Linked DNA regions of Homo sapiens: region 2 is linked to region 1. The links are contacts of gene promoters, found by promoter capture Hi-C in human tissues and cell types (Jung and others, 2019). All regions are on one chromosome and are shown on one strand. The core of a region is centred on a gene start or on the middle of the fragment in contact, and the rest is flanking DNA. Distances in the headings are between cores, read along the strand shown.

Region 1 (4,959 bases), core at 902-3,401:
ATCAGGTGAGAGTTTTAAAGCCAGAGATTTTTCTCTGGCTGGTTACAGGAGAGGAATTCAGCACTCTGATGTCCCTGAAAGAAAGCAAGCATTCATGCTATGAACTGCCTATGGGGCAGCTTCTAGAATCTGAGATTGATCCCTCGGAGACAGCTAACAGGAAAAGAGAGACCTCAGTCCTATAACCACAAGGAAATGAATTCTGCCAACAATCTGTGAGCTTGGAAGAAAACTCTGAAGCTCACATGAGAACCTCAACCCTGGCCAACACCTTGGCTTCAACCTGGTGAGACCCTGAGGGTCCAGCCAGGCCATGCCCAGACTTCTGACCTACAGAAACCATGAGATCATAAATTTGTATTGTTTTAAGCTACTAAATTGTGGTAATTTGTTATGTAGCAATAAGAAAAATTAGTACTGGATTTTAGAGACTTAGTACAAAAAAAAGAAAATGTAAAATATCTCAATAATTTCTTTACTGATTCCAATGTTGAAATCATAATATTTTAGATTTAATAAAATATATCACTAAAAATACAGTTGATCCTGAAACAACACGAGTTTGAACTGCTAGTGTCCACTTACATGCAGATTTTTTTCCAATAAATACATTGGAAAATTTTTGGAGATTTGTGACAATTTGAAAAAACTTACAGATGAACCATGTAGACTAGAAATATCAAAAGCCTTAAGAATAAGTTAGATATGTCGTGAATGCCTAAGATATATGTAGATACTATTTATGTGTCAATCGACTGTTTATATTATTGGTAAGGTTTCTGGCGAACAGTAAGTTATTACTAGTTAAGTTTCAGGGGAGTCAAAAGTTATATTCTAATTTTCTAGGCATGGAGGAGTGGTTTCCCTAACCCCCACTGTTTAAGGGGTAACTGTAATTTCGCCTGTTTTTTACTTCTTTAAAATGTTGCAATCAGAAATGTAAAAGGACATATGTGGGCCGGACGCGGTGGCTCATGCCTGTAATCTCAGCATTTTGTGAGGCCAAGGCAGGTGGATCATTTGAGGCCAGGAGTTCAAGACCAGCCTGGCCAACATGGTGAAACCCCTTCTGTACTAAAAATACAAAAATTAGCTGGGCATGGTGGTGCATGCCTGTAATCCCAGCTACTCAGGAGGCTGAGGCAGGAGAATCGCTTGAACCCAGGAGGCGGAGGTTGCAGTGAGCCAAGATTGTGCCACTGCACTCCAGCCTGCAACAGAGTGAGTGAGACTCTATCTCAAAAAATCAAAAATAAAATAAAATAAAATTATATATGTGGCTCACATTATAGGTGTTGGACTGTGCTGGCCTAGAGGACTCAGAAGTCAGCCATGGGACCTCCGGCAAGTCACCACACCTCTCAAAGCAGTTCTTATCTGTGAGATAGGAATAATAGTAGCACTTACCCCACAGATAAATTTGCAGTTTGAGTGAGATTGAGGTCTGTGCTTGACCCAAGGTAAGTACTCAATAAACGTTGGTAATTATCATTATTATTAATAACAATATGTGCAAAGGCTCATATCCAGGCCCTAGTCTCCAGGAGCCTCTCCCCAACCAGGCACACAGCAGCCACACAACAGGTACATGTGTGGGGATTTCACAACCTCTACAAAGCTCTTTGGCACATGTTCTCTGCCCTCACAACCCACTTGGCAGGTGGGAATCAGGAACCCGTGGGCAGGTAAGGACACTGCGCCTCAGGGGTAAAATGATCGTTTCAAGCTTCACAACTCACCTAGGAAGAACCTGGGGCTCCAAGGGAGATGAGGCCACCTTCTACAGCTCCCTAACTCAGATGCCCACGGTCTGAGAAAATGACTGGAGCTCACCCCTAAAATGGGCGACATAAGATCCTGGCCCTGTCAAGTGTGTGTGCCAGGAATAACTGAGATCAATCACTTGCAGCAGCTGAAGTACCCTGGCACATACTAAACACTCAATTAAGTAAATCATGATTACTGTTGTTCCTTTGCCAGAGAAGCTTCTGCTGAAATCCCTCTCTACGGGGAATCCTCACGCCCTAAATGACCCCTCCTTCCCGGCCCGTAACTCCGGAGGATGCCCCTGCAGGTAGGCCCAGTCTCCAGACACCACCACCCCCCAGCCGAGTCAGGAATAGAAACCGCCGCCTCCGGCCGCCAGCGGCCTCACTCCCTCCTCCGGCAGCGATCGATGCGGCCTTCAGCCGCGGGGGACTAGGCAAGGAAGAAGGAAGGAGAGGGCAGCGGGGCCGCCTGCAGCAGGAGGCTCGGCGGGGCCGGCGGGGCAGAGGCGAGACCGAGTATAGCCAGCGGCTCCCAGCCTCGGTGGCTTTGGGACAGACACGCGAGGCGCCCGGGAGGTGCCACCACAGGTAAGGGGCCTCCTTTGGGGAGGGACGTGGCTCCGGGACGGTCCCGGGCAGCCAGAGTGGGAGGCGGGGCTGCCTGGGGCTCCTGGTGCTCTTACCCCCTCTAAGAGACCCCCCACCCCCCGCCAAGGAGGAAGCAGTGTGGGGTGGCCGCGCTTTGGAGACCCTGGCTGGTACAGTTTGCTCATCTGTAAAATGGGATTAGAAAACCTCCCTGGCAGGGTTGGTGTAGGGATTAAACCGAGTGAGGTGTGCATGGAGCCCAGAGGAGTGACTAGCAGATAGGAGGTGCTCAAAATAAGTGTGTGGAGAGAGAATGAAATAAAAAAACCTGGTCTCCAACCTTAGCTGTGCCATGGACTAGCTGGGTGATTTTGAACAAGTCACTTGGTCTTTCTTACTGATATTCAGGTTCTTGTCAGAAAATGTTTGTTGAATTAATTATCCTGTTTCATAGAGCAGGAAAGTGAGCTCCTGATGGATGAAGGGATTTGCCCAATATTATGCTTCTAATGGGTGATGGAACTGGATTAGAAATTTCATTTTTTGATGCCAAATGCAGGTGGAGATCCAAGTGGAGGTGGGAGCGGAGCTACATCACACGTTTATTGTGCATTGATTATGTGCCAGGGACCATGCTGCCGATAAACACCTTGCATCATTTAATTCTCTGAGCCTCTCCTGGAAAGTATGATGCTACCCGGTTCCACAGACAGGGAAACAAGCCCAGAGAGGGCGACGAATGCACTCAAGGACAGCAGCTAGTAAGTGGTAGACTCAGGTCTGACCACAGGGAAGTACACAGGATTAACATTTATTGAGCATCTACTGTTTTCCCAGGGCTTTGACATATACCACAATAATGATGCATCCAAAGCAACATTATCCCCATTCTAGAGGTAAAAGAGCTAAAGCCCAGAGTGGGAAGGAGACTGGCCTGAGGTCACACAAGTGATAGAGCTAAGGGTGGAACCCCAAATCCATTTAATGCCAAGCCCAGGTGCTTTACACACACTTAATCCCTAGTCTAGGCATTACTGAACCCACAGTGCAAATGAGATTGCCAGTGGTGAGGAGGTGTCACTAGCCCCCAATTCCAGCAGAGTCAGGAGTCAGTGGGTAGTGGAAGAACCTAAATCCTTCCTGAGTATCCACTAAGGCTGAGCACTTTCTATAATCTACCTTAATCCTCCAGTCATCCCTGGAGGTAGGTGCTATTATCTACGTTGTGCAGGAAATTGAGACCTGGAGGACAAATAGCTTCCTCAAGGCCCCAGGTGCGTCAGGGGTGGAGATAAACCCAGGTTTGCCTGACTCCAGAAGATAGTGACACCAGTGAATAATTTATTAAATTCCTTCTGTGAGCCAAGCCCAAGAAAGACACTAGGTCATTTAATCTTCATAACCACACTTTGAGGTGAATATTTTTATTTCCATTTCACAGAGGCTCAGAGAGGTGATGTTACTTGCCTAAGGTGACACAAGAGAGTCAAGATTCAAGGTCAGGTCTGGCTGACTCTACAGATGCTTTACATAATCTAAAGCAGGAGCTCTCAAACTTGACTATGTAGCCGAATCACTTTCCAATCTTGTTAGAACACAAAGTGCTAGACCCCACCCTTAGAGTTCCCGATTCAGTAAATCGATGGCAGGCTGAGAATTTGCATCTTTGACAAATTCCCAGGTGATGCTGATGCTGCTGGTCCGGGGAACACACTATGAGAACCTCCGGTCTAAAGTGGTGCTGCCAACACCCCTAGGAGGTAAGTGTTACTATCCTCATTTTGCAGAAGAAACAGGTTCAGAGGGCTGGCGGGCCCAAGATCCCACAGTAGACCTTTGGTGTAAATAAATCCAAGTTTGTCCTGGAAAAGGAGACATCCTATGTGAGCACCCACTAGGTGCCAGGACATCCTGCGATTCCATCGCTTTCATATCCTTCCAGGTAGATCTCAGCATTTACTTTCCAAAGGAGAAAAATGAAATGGGGGTGGGGTGGGTCAGTGATTTGGCCAAAGTCAAATGATGGGGATGAAGGATAGTCAAAGCCAGGCCTGACTCTGAGTCCAGAGGGCACCTGACATCTACTGAGCGCCTCCTGCATACCAGATGCTTCACACACAGCCTCCAACACCCCTTGGCTGGTTGGATGGAGGAGGGGATTTTAACCTGGTCTTCCAGGAAGGGAAGCCCGGGAACTCCTCAGCGCGCCCTTCTGGTGTCCGCAGGGAGGAGCACTGAAACCTTTGTGAGCGAGTTCCCGGGCCCCGACACCGGGATCCGCTGGCGGCGAAGCGACGAGGCGCTGCGCGTGAACGTGGGTGGCGTGCGGCGGCAGCTGAGCGCGCGCGCCCTGGCGCGCTTCCCGGGCACGCGGCTGGGCCGCCTGCAGGCCGCGGCGTCGGAGGAGCAGGCGCGGCGCCTGTGCGACGACTACGACGAGGCGGCGCGCGAATTCTACTTCGACCGGCACCCGGGCTTCTTCCTGAGCCTGCTGCACTTCTACCGCACTGGCCACCTGCACGTGCTCGACGAGCTGTGCGTCTTCGCCTTTGGCCAGGAGGCCGACTACTGGGGCCTAGGCGAGAACGCGCTTGCCGCGTGC
Region 2 (4,959 bases), core at 1,594-4,093, 130 kb after region 1:
GGACTGTCATTTCCCCATACCTTTAATGATGCCAGTCAACTGGCAGTCTTCAGATTCATCTTGGACTTGTCTTTTCACAGCACAGCTGGTGTGTCATTTTTACTTCCCTTCTCTGCTTGATTTCTTGCTGGATTCCAAAGAGTATTTTTCCAACTTACAAAAAGACGATGACTCATGTTTTTTACAAGGAGGTAAATCATAAAAAAACCATTTCATGTAATCCAGGATTGGGTTTAACGTTGTAAATCTGTCTCCTAACATAAAAAATACTAAACCCAAAAAATAATCTAATGACATAAAGGAAATTATTTTAAAGAGCATATAGTCATCAGTCAGTAGTTGTTTTTACAAGTTAGTATGTCAGGTCTTCCCTTGATCCAGAAATACTCCCAAGGGATTAAAAATACAGACACACACACACACAAACACGAGTGTGCGCTCGCACACACATAGCCTGTCTCTGAAAGACACACAAGAAGCCGCTACCCTTGGTGATTCTGGGTGGCTAAGAGACAGAGAGAGGTAGGAGGCAGTTTTTTTTTTTTTTTATTGTATGCGTCTTAATATTTTTTTAAATTTTGAATCATATGATTGTATCGCCTATTCAAAAATTAACAAGAAAAACTTAAGAAATGGTGTCATTAACATTTTAATTTCCTGGTCATTACAGAAGAAGGAATAAATACACAGGATTGAATTAAAATGATATATAAAAGTATAAAAATTATGTAAACTTAATTGTATCATGAAAGTCAATGATGGTCACTGCACATTACTAATATCATTTCATCAGTATTTTATAAACGCATTAACAAATCTGTGTTTCAGGAAATCCACTGGCTCCCAACCCAGGATTGTGGATCTCCTAAGTAGCTGTGAAGGTGGTGATAGTGCTTAATTTATTTACTATATTTCACAAAGGTGCAAATATTAAAATACTAAATTACATTGATTTTCATTGAAACAGTTATTGCATACCAATCAGAAATTATGAACAGCAAATTAAAAAGTTTCTTATAGAATTTTAATCTAATTAGTGCTATCTGTTAAGTAGATAAAATCATACAGATCCTACAAAAGAGAAAACAATAGATATTCTTCGTGTTAAAAAGACCAGGAATCACTAAATCTGTCTATAATAGGGATTGGAGTAAAGCGAAGAAGGACATCACAAGCTGTAAATTTACCTTCCACCCCACCTAGAACAATGCTGAAAGGTTCATATCCTTCTGCTTCTTCTGGGGCAGGAAAAAGACTGGGACCCAATGACCTACCTATAGTTTCTTTACACTCACCCTTCTCCAAGTTTCTCTAAGACATCAAATACTTCTTCTGGTTGTTTGGTTAAACTATCTTCATCCAACTTTTTCAGCTGCCTGTGAATAAAGAAATATAAACACAAAATACATTTTATTTGCTAGGAACTAGAACATAAAATATATCTTTTTTTTATAATTAGCATCTCAGGAACTTCTCTATACAGACTTCACTAGTTAAGACTGTTTTAAGAAACAAGGTTTCTTGGGAGGCCGATACAGGCAGATCACGAGATCAGGAGATCGAGACCATCCTGGCTAACATGGTGAAACCCCGTCTCCACTAAAAATACAAAAAAATTAGCTGGGCGTGGTAACGCATGCCTGTAATCCCAGCTACTCAGGACGCTGAAGCATAAGAATGGCGTGAACCCAGGAGGCAGAGTTTGCAGTGAACCGAAATTGCGCCACTACGCTCAAGCTTGGGTGACAGAGAGAGACTGTCTCAAAAAAAAAAAAAAAAAAAAAAAAAGTCATGTGGCTGAAATGCTGTAGATTCAAGCATTCGATGTATCCTTCAAAATCTATTTAAATCTTGAGATTTCATGAATTAAAATGATGTAATTATCTCTTCAGAAAAGGTGTTTAATGTAAGGTAACTATGAATTGAAACATAACTATGAATTGGACTGCAGACTAAGGAAGACACGGGAAACCTTTGCTCTTCCATTAGCAAGTTTTTTGTAAGTTTGTCAAAACACATAAATTCTGTAGGTATCACAGAAACAGAAAGTGGAAAGTGTACATTTAGATATGATCAAAAGTGAAAAATCACTAGGCAGCTGTGAGTTTCAGATATTCTCACAAAGACCTTCCTATGAGTAGATACATACCTTTGACTAGTCCCAAAAATCAAAGGTACTTGGCTGCTCACAATTTCCAGATAATTCAGATTTCTGACTATGCTAGACAATCATAACAAACATGGGAGGTTATAAATTAACATTTTTTTAAAACTCTGAGATCTCTGAAAATTACTAATGAGCTTAAAGAAGGAACTTGCCAAGGAATATGTGTGTGTGTGTGTGTGTGTGTGTGTGTGTGTGTGTGTGTGTAGTCTACACAATGGCTTCCTGAAACTACAAAGAACAACAAAGAATAGAGAGCTGAGGAAACGGTGAAATATGGAAGTAGTCACACTGGAGACCTCTTTGTAGAAAAAAAAAGGTTTAGACTAGCTGGATAATATCAATTATTACAACAAAAGACTTAAATACACACACATACACACACACACACACACACACAAATGTGTACCTTCCTAAATAAAACAGATTAAAATTAGAAGACAAAAAATAAAACAAACCAACAAAAACCCTGACCACATCAAGTGTATCTACCAATAAACACTGATCTCAGAAGGACAATCTTATAGTTTATGAATATCAAGGACTATAAACTAGAGAAATGGAGAACTGCTCCAAGTCAAAACTGCCTTAACTTGATATCAACAGAACAAAATGATCACAGTGACCTTTGAAAATCAAAAGGTCCTAAAAATTAAATACCAATGACATCATAAAAACTCCTACCTTCAAAATGAAAAGGGATGAAGTGAAACTCCTCTTAAACTTCAGAACTGAAACTTCTATAAACTCAGAAGTCAGAACGAACATCTCATATGCCAGGGTTTTTTTGGTAAAGTCCTGAATTGTAATTGTATAAACATTGGACAATACCTCACTTCTCAAGTATAATCAAAGTTGTATAAACAGCTTATACAAAGGAAGATCAAGTATGTTTCTTTGAAGTGTTGACTCTCTGTGGTTTACAAAATGCAAAAGTCACTATTTCAACTACTTCAGGGACCACAGCATAACAAAGGAAATTGCCACTGCCTTGAGATAGACAGCTGCAAACCTCTGATAATACTTTGACAAACTTTTTTTTTCTTTTTTTTTAATTATTATTATACTTTAAGTTTTAGGGTACATGTGCACAATGTGCAGGTTAGTTACATATGTATACATGTGCCATGCTGGTGTGCTGCACCCATTAACTCGTCATTTAGCATATGACGGCTCGAATACATCTTTGAAACAATCTAAGTGCTTTTTTGTTTGTTTTTGATCCGGGGCTATTAAAAACAACTTGAACTTAAGGCGCTATTACATCTCTGGTGCCTGATAACCAAGAGGTGGTCAAAATATATTTGTGAAATGGATTCACAAATGTAATGATGGGAATCACGAATTTCATCAGCAATCTTTGAATTATCACAATAAAACAGAATTTCACCTAAGAAGTATTACTGAATTATCAACATTTCTATAAAAATATTTTGATAAGTGATTCATAATAATATTTTATACCATGACTCTTCACAGAAAAAACACTATTACCAAAACAGCCTGACTCTGATAATACAGTTCTCTTATCTGGGACTTCCCCAGGTTCCAGACGGTTTCAGCACTTGCTCATAAATGAACAAGCCTGATCAACAGAGCATCCATGGACCAAATACTGGTGGATGCTCCTCTCCTAAGTCAGATGGCCATGTGGATGGCCAGCATCCCAGGAATGCACTCTACGCCTTCCACTATAACATTAATCTAATGGCAACTCATTTTTTAAAATTATTAACTCCTATATGAGACACCAATCTGTCATCACTTAATCACACACACACACAAATGTCAAACTCACGAACACAAAGGGCATTTCCTGCACTGGGGTTATTGGAAACACATGCCATCTGAATTTCTGAAAAGACACCTGTATCTTTCCAAACACAAGTAATGGTGTCTATGAAGTAGTCACTTACAGGTCTGGCTAATTCTCAAAGCTTTCTCCCATTTCAGAACTCCCATAAAGTTCATTTTATGTGTAACTATTTCTTTTTCCACACAGAATTTGATATGGATTACAACAACTATACATGATAAATGGACAAAATCTTACATAATAAAACTGTGTCCCCAGCTTACCCCAATTCATATGCTGAAGTCCTAATACCCACCACCTAAGAATGTGACTGTATTTGGAGACAAGGCCTTTAAAGAGGTAATTAAGATAAAATGAGGTCATATGGGCATGCCCTAATCCAGTATGACTGGTGTCCTTATAAGAGGAGATTAGGACACTGACAGGTACAGAAGGAAGAACATGGAGACACAGGGAGATGGCCATCTACGAGTCAAGCAAAGGCGTCAAAAGAAACAACTCTGACAATGCCTTGATTTCAGATCTCTAGCCTTCAGAACAGTGAGAGAATAAATTTACGTTGCTTAAACCACCCACTCCATGACACTTTGTCTTGTCCTGATAAACTGATACACGTGATAATAAAATTGATCTGCTTCAAATTAGGCAATCTACTAGTTACAATGAGCTGGGAATCACCAGCCACTTCAGAACCCAGTCCTGCAATGCTCTTCTCTTGTGCTTTTAATACATTTTTTAAAATCCAAAAGGTACAGGAATGAGCATGCCAAGAAACTTTAGTCCTTTGCTCAAGATTATGTAAGACAAGGCAAAGGGGGAAACAAAACTCAGATTCCTAATCCTCTTTTCAATTAAACCAAGGCCTCGGAGAAAGAAACCAAGAAGAACGAACGAACATAGTTCAGAAAGAAACATAACTAGTGTGCATTCATAATTGGATCACTATGGTACTATAGTAAATATCTGCTAACATACACAG

What was found. Contacts are between HindIII fragments. The study calls those that stand out against the background at their distance.
Region 2: a contact is called between a fragment that was not itself captured here and the fragment with the promoter of KCNS1 in region 1, in 2 of the 25 tissues and cell types used here (dorsolateral prefrontal cortex and spleen).

The regions. Positions count from the first base shown.
Region 1 is chr20:45,098,319-45,103,277 of GRCh38, reverse strand. It overlaps KCNS1 (potassium voltage-gated channel modifier subfamily S member 1), which reads left to right and starts at 2,151. Exons shown (of 4, transcript NM_001322799.2): 1 at 2,151-2,357; 2 at 4,039-4,117; 3 at 4,583-4,959. The coding sequence starts at 4,042. The HindIII fragment of the contact is 6,202 bases long and covers 477-4,959 here.
Region 2 is chr20:44,968,495-44,973,453 of GRCh38, reverse strand. STK4 (serine/threonine kinase 4) reads right to left here. Exons shown (of 11, transcript NM_006282.5): 2 at 1,296-1,376. Among named protein-coding and RNA genes, the nearest start is that of STK4, 4.5 kb to the right of the region's middle. The HindIII fragment of the contact is 4,792 bases long and covers 448-4,959 here.